2 separate regions of the Homo sapiens genome follow, and region 2 is linked to region 1. The links are contacts of gene promoters, found by promoter capture Hi-C in blood cells and fetal thymus (Javierre and others, 2016). All regions are on one chromosome and are shown on one strand. The core of a region is centred on a gene start or on the middle of the fragment in contact, and the rest is flanking DNA. Distances in the headings are between cores, read along the strand shown.

Region 1 (3,025 bases), core at 308-2,807:
CTAGTTAAAAATTTTAAATCAGAATATTTCACATACGACGGCTTCTGTTGAAAATTTGGAAGATGCGGCTATACTGTGCCCCGGTCCCCTCCCCCGACAACCAGCACCTGGAGCAGAAAAGGCAGCTGCCCCTTGAGATGGGATCCTTGTGCCTGTCCCCAGCACTGCCCTTTGCCTCCCTGGCGATGGAGCCCAGCGTCTGTATGGTTGCCTCTGGAGCTTTAGCTGGTGTTTTTTATAGTAGACTTAAGAGGAAAGCAAAACATTTTTCATAACCCTTCTCTATCAAAAGTGGGAAACAAAAGACAGACCGAGAGAGGGCCTCGTGTCTCAAGAAATATAGGAGAGCTCATATCTCTTTGTGGAAGCAAGACCATCCCTTACATCGCCTAGCCTGCAGCGCCAATTTATATTATCGACCGGCCCCGTAGGCGTTTGAGTTTGCGACCCTGCCCTCACCCTGCTCATTCCCCTCCCGACCCAGACTAGGACCCTCTCTTTTTCCGATCACTCCCCCCAGGCACACCGCACGCGGCTGTCATTTCCTTTCTCCTTCAAGGCAGCCCTCTGTTTATTTTAACCCGATTAGGGAATGGGGGTGGGGCACAGGAGACTCCAGCAGCGGTCACTGCTGGAGGCTCCAGGAGACGACGTGACTTGACCAAGGTCACAGAGCTGGAAGGTGAAGTCGCCTGGACCCTACCCCCGGTCTCCCTAGCTGCCAAAGCCCAGCTCGTTCCTTTACACCCACGTCGCGGGCGCCGTGCGCTCTCGGGGCTCAAACACCGCGCGCCCAGTCGGGTGTGCTGCGCCTGAAGGTTGTTTTCCTTCGGCGAACGGCGCCGAGGGGTTAGGGAAACCTTGGGTCATGGTGTGAGGCGCGCCCCTGGAATCCACCAGCCTGCGAGGCTGGGACTGCGGGTGTCCCCGAGTCTGGCCTGCCAGCTCTGGTGGCCAGGGCACCTCTGCGCGCGGGCCAGGGCCCCGGGGCTCTCCCGCAGTCCCCTAACCAAGCCGCGGGCTGGCAGCGTACCGCGGCGCCCGGACGACCCCGGAGCGCGGCCGCGAGGAAAGGGCGGGGGAGAGGACTGCAGCGGAACCTGCCCGGGGCACCCCTGCCCTGGGCGGCTCTCCGCAGGCTGGCGCCGCGCCGGGGTCGCCGCAGCCCCGGGCCCCTCCCGGGCCACCTGTGCGCAGACTGGCGGGCCCGCGAGAGCCCGGATCCGGAGCACCGATCCACTCCGGGTTTCAGACTCCTGCCCCTGTCCCTGGAGACCCCGCGGGGCGGTGGGAGGCCTCCACGCCCACCACCCCAAGCCCCTCCCTGGGGGAGCCTCAGGCATCGCCCAGAGGGATTCCCGGTGCTGGGGGTGGCCCGCGCGCGCTGCGCGGGGCGGCCCGGCCCCTCCTTCCTTCCCCCGCCCCTCCCAGCCGCCGCCCCGCTCCGTCGCTCCAGTCCGGGTTTTGCGGCGCCCACCGGCCCGCTCTCCGGCTGCGGGCTCCGCGGCGCGGCTGGCTCGGTGCGCGGCGCGGCTGGCGCTGCGCTCCGCCCCGGCTGCATTGCTGCGCTCCCGTGCCCAAGGGAGCCACGCGCCGCGTGCGCCCGGCAGCCGGCCGCCCGGAGGCAGCGCAGTCCGCTGGCATGGGCCCCGGGGGCGCCCCGAGCTGGGGCTCCGGGCTGAGGCGCTAAAGCCGCCCTCCCGCCCGCGGGGCCCCGCGCCCGGCCCGCCCGCCTGCCCGCCCGCGGCCATGGCCGTCCGGCCCGGCCTGTGGCCAGCGCTCCTGGGCATAGTCCTCGCCGCTTGGCTCCGCGGCTCGGGTGAGTCACGCCGCGCGCGCTCTGGGGAGGCTTGCGGGGGACCGTGCGCGCGAACGCTCGCTGCTCTGGGGGTCCCTGACCAGCGCTGCCAGACCCGGCTGGGAGCCCCCCGAGGCCAAACTTTGCGAGGCGGGACGCGGGGGGCTCTTCTTGCTGCTGCGCAGCTTCCCCGCGCGCTCTCCCGGAAGCCTGGGTTCTGCCAAGTCCAGGAGCAGCTGTCAGCCCGCGGGGCTGGCGAGTGTAGACACCCCACGCCTCCGGGTGGGGGAAGTTTGCTGGTTGCCTGGGCCCGGAGCAGGGCTGGGGGTTTGGATCAACCCCAGGGAGCCTGACTTTGAGGATTCGAAGATTAGAGGGTTTTGAGCCTATCCCAGTGCCCAGGAAATGGGGGGTGCGGGGAACGTTTAAGATACCTCTTCCCGGTAGCATCTGCCCTAAACAGCCACTCACAATCTCCCAGCTTGGCACCTGGCCTCTGCCCACGTCCAGAACACAGTGTCCTCCTCTGTCCCCGCCACACACGCTCTCACACGCACACACTCAGGCGTGGAGGCGCATACACCAGCCCCCAGTCCTTGCAGCCAGCACAGTCAAAGCGCCGCGGTCCCGGTGGCCGGGGCTGTGGCTCCTGGCCTCCCTGGTGCGGGGGGCCAGAGTTGTGTGTGGTTGGTCCGCCAGTTTCCCCTTCTTCCTTAAACTCCATAGCCTTTCTTGGCCCCTGCATGCCCCATTGGTCACCCTAACCCACTGCTAACTCAGCCCTCAGCCCACCTCATTCCCTTGGGAGGGGCTTGGGGGGAGGAAGTTCCCCTGCATCCTTTGTCTGCTGTCCCTGAGCCTTCACCTAGGCTGAGCTGTGGGGGCCTCCTGATCTCTGCCCCCCATGCACTTAGCTGAGTTGAGCGTATGTGTCTGTGGTGGTGGGGGGTGGGTGCCATTTGTGTGGTCAAGGGGGCTTGAGGCTTACCCTGGCAATTCTCGATTCTTGCTGCCCCTAGAACCTGGGCGGTTACTCCCCAGCCTGGCCAGGCCGCTGCTTATAACAGGGGTGTTGGAAGGGAGCACTGGGGTTTCTGAGCTGCCAAACCAGATTGATCAGAGATCAATGAGTGGGAGCTCAGGAGCCAGCCTGATGATTGAGGCCGATGGCTGTTTCCTTAAAGGGTGTCTCTGCGCAGCGCATCCTGCACCCACCACTGCCTGACC
Region 2 (3,317 bases), core at 473-2,972, 260 kb after region 1:
CAACATAATGGGAGCCTCTTAAAAAAAAAAAAAAGAAAGAAAGAAAAAAGGGGCCAGGCGCCAGGCGCGGTGGCTCACGCCTGTAATCCCAGCACTTTGGGAGGCTGAGGTGGGCGGATCACAAGGTTAGGAGATCGAGACCATCCTGGCTAACACGGTGAAACCCCATCTCTACTAAAAATACAAAAAATTAGCTGGTCGTAGTGGCGGGTGCCTGTAGTCCCAGCTACCGGGAGGCTGAGGCAGGAGAATGGCATGAACCCGGGAGGCGGAGCTTGCAGTGAGCTGAGATCGTGCCACTGCACTCCAGCCTGGGCGACAGAGCGAGACTCTGTCTCAAAAAAAAAAAAAGAAGAAGAAGAAGAAAGCCCTTCCTTCCCTCACAGCAGTCCCTGCCAGATGAGCTGTCCCCACCCCCAAACCAGATGCTCTGATGAGCAGTCACTAGTGTAAAATACAATAGGAAGAACACTTTCTCCCTCTGACCATCCATCCACCTAACCTCACCTCTCTGCCCTGTGCAAAGCCCTGTTACAGAGACAGGGCAGACCCGTCCCCGGCCTGTCTCTCCCAAGCTTACTGTTCATATATGCTGCTTCATCTGTCTAGGAATATCAGAACGCAGTTCTGTAAATGTTCAACTCTTCAGTGCAATGACCCCATTAGCCACTAGGTGGAGTCAGCTTCTTTTTTCTAGCAAGGTAGACCAGCCCTGGGACTTTACTGTTTGATTTAATGGGAAGAGAACAGGGTGACTTCACGAGCCCCTGTATATGCTATTTCAGTTAACCCTCAGGACAACTGGCAAAGACTTGATTTCACAGGAGAAAGTCAGGGACAAAGTCTTGCAGAGCTTACACAACCAAGAAGTAGCCTTGGAGAGAGATTTGATCTTAGCACTTCTGCTCATTCCCAAGGCCGATTTCCCCTTCCCTCAGGACATTTCCCTCAGGAGGCCCTCTCTGTTTGAGGGCTGTAACTTAGTCACCTGTCTAGAAGTACACCTGATGTCAGGCCAGCTCCACAGCCCTTCTTTTCCTTTTCTCCTTTGGGTGACAAACCTGCTCCATTCTCAGATCCTGTGGTTCCGAGGGACTGGCCCTGCTCTCTGATTCCAGGAGTGAGCCTGTGACCCGACTGAGTAATCACAGTCATAGTCTTCAGCTGTTAGTGTCCAGCATGTAAGGACAGCCTGCTTCAGAACTAAGCCAACACAGAGGAGGCCGGGCTCGGTGGCTCACACCTGTAACCCCAGTACTTTGGGAGGCCAAAGCAGGCAGATTACTTGAAGTCAGGAGTTCAAGGCCAGCTGGCCAACATGATGAAACCCTGTCTCTACTAAAAATACAAAAATTAGTCAGGCGTGGTGGCGCACGTCTGTAGTCCCAGCTACTCAGGAGGCTGAGGCAGGAGTATTGCTTGAACCCGTGAGGCGGAGGTTGCAGTGAGCCGAGATCACACCACTGTACTCCAGATAAGGAGAGACTCATTTCTGATGACTACCTGGATCCAGCTATGCCTGAAGCTAATATCCCCCAGGACTTTTTAGTTATGACTTTTCTTTAAGTCAGTTGAGTTTCTATAACTTGCAACCAAGATTTCTGCCTAATACTTGCTCCAGCTCCCCTTGTCAACCTGGGGACCTCCACTCATCCAGAGATCACTGGCCCCCAAGGCCAAGTTGGCTGCCCTTTGTGTTCCCAGATGCCCTGTGTTCCCCTCTAGCATAGCCCTTAATATGCTGTGTTACGATGATCTAATTCCCTGTCTCTTCTTTTAGACTAGAAACTGCTTGAGGGCAGGAATTGGGTCTTATGATACTGCATCCCTGGTCCCTAGCATAGGACTGTGCTTATGTTTTAATAACTGCTTGGTGATTGAATACATTAATGAATAAATGAATAAAAATGGGTATGGTCTGGTAGGGACCATTGCTGGGATTTCACAGGAAAGACATTTATTTTGTTTGTTTTTTGAAACAGCGTCTCACTCTGTCACACAGGCTGGAATGCAGTGGTGCAAACACAGCTCATTGCAGCCTCGACCTCACTGACTCAAGTGATCCTCCCACCTCAGCCTCCCGAGTAGCTGGGACTACAGGCGCACACCACCACACCCAGCTAATTATCTTATTTTTTGTAGACACAAGGTCCCACTGTGTTGCCCAGGCTGGTCTTGAACTCCTGAGCTCAAACGATCCTCCCACCTCGGCCTACCAGAGTGCTGGGATTGCAGACGTGAGCCACCGCACCTGGCCGGAAAGACTTATTGAGGGAGATGATCCTCTAGTGGTCATGAAGGTCAAAGGAGCCAGGTTGCTGGGGTGGGAGGAGGCTTAGTGAAAGGAACTAGAAGAGGCGAGTTGTGGAACACAGTTGATTGTTTCAATAATGGCCTCCCATGAATCATTGCCTCCCTGTGCCTGTGTCCTTTTGCAATGTGACTTTATCATTGCTCCCATCAAGATCGGGCGGGCGGGGGAGGGGGGGGGTCCATTTCCCAGTCTCTTGAATCTGAACTAGTCTTGTGAGTTGCTTTGATCAGAGAATTCAGTAACATGACTGTACGACTTCCAAGGTTAGGACTTAAGTGCTCATGCAGCTTCCGTTCCTGACCCTGTGAAAGGAAGTTTGGGCTAGACCATGTGGCGACCACAGACCAGGTAGAGAGAGAAGCCAACAGCCAGCTCCATACATGTGAGGGAGGACATCCCAGACCCTCTAGCATAGCCAATCCACAGCATAAGCAGAACTGCCACCTGAGCCCAGCTAATCACAGAATTGTGAGAAATAATACATTGTTTTAAATAATTAAGTTTGGGAACAGTTTGTGCAGTAAAGGCTCACAGAATCACTAGGTATAATAATCAGAAGCTTCCTAGTGTCTGTTTACCCTTCTTCCTATAATAAGCTTTTCTTTGAAAAACCCCACCCTCAGCTTATGTAGTCCGGGTGGGGAAGACCTCCACTCTCCTGGCTTTTGCCAGAACAGTTGAGAAGTTGCCAAGTGGGAATGTCTCGAGCCCAGAGCTGTTAGTGGCCTTCTTTGTCACTTCTTAGGGAGCACCTGTCATAGAGAAGAAGACAGAAGAGAGAATGAGTTTTGACCATACTGTTGGGAACCAGGATCAAGCTGTTTCTGGAGCCTGATTCACACCAGGACTTACAGTCATGCTCCTGTAGTCCCAGCTACTCAGGAGACTAAGGCAGGAGAATTTCTTAGGCCCAGGAGTTCACATCCAGCCTGGGCAGCACAACAGACCTCATCTCTTTAAAAAGTGCATGAGCCAGTACATTCACTATTTTGTGTAAGCAGGT

The links. The method cuts DNA at HindIII sites, captures the fragments that hold promoters and counts their contacts. A CHiCAGO score of 5 or more calls a contact.
Region 2: a contact is called between a fragment that was not itself captured here and the fragment with the promoter of UNC5A in region 1, in 4 of 17 cell types (endothelial precursors, M0 macrophages, M2 macrophages and 1 more). The highest score is 8.9, in endothelial precursors.

The regions. Positions count from the first base shown.
Region 1 is chr5:176,809,002-176,812,026 of GRCh38, forward strand. It overlaps UNC5A (unc-5 netrin receptor A), which reads left to right and starts at 1,558. Exons shown (of 15, transcript NM_133369.3): 1 at 1,558-1,819. The coding sequence starts at 1,750. The HindIII fragment of the contact is 10,823 bases long and covers 1-3,025 here.
Region 2 is chr5:177,071,347-177,074,663 of GRCh38, forward strand. It overlaps a transcript of ZNF346 not described here. Among named protein-coding and RNA genes, the nearest start is that of FGFR4, 14 kb to the right of the region's middle. The HindIII fragment of the contact is 2,298 bases long and covers 574-2,871 here.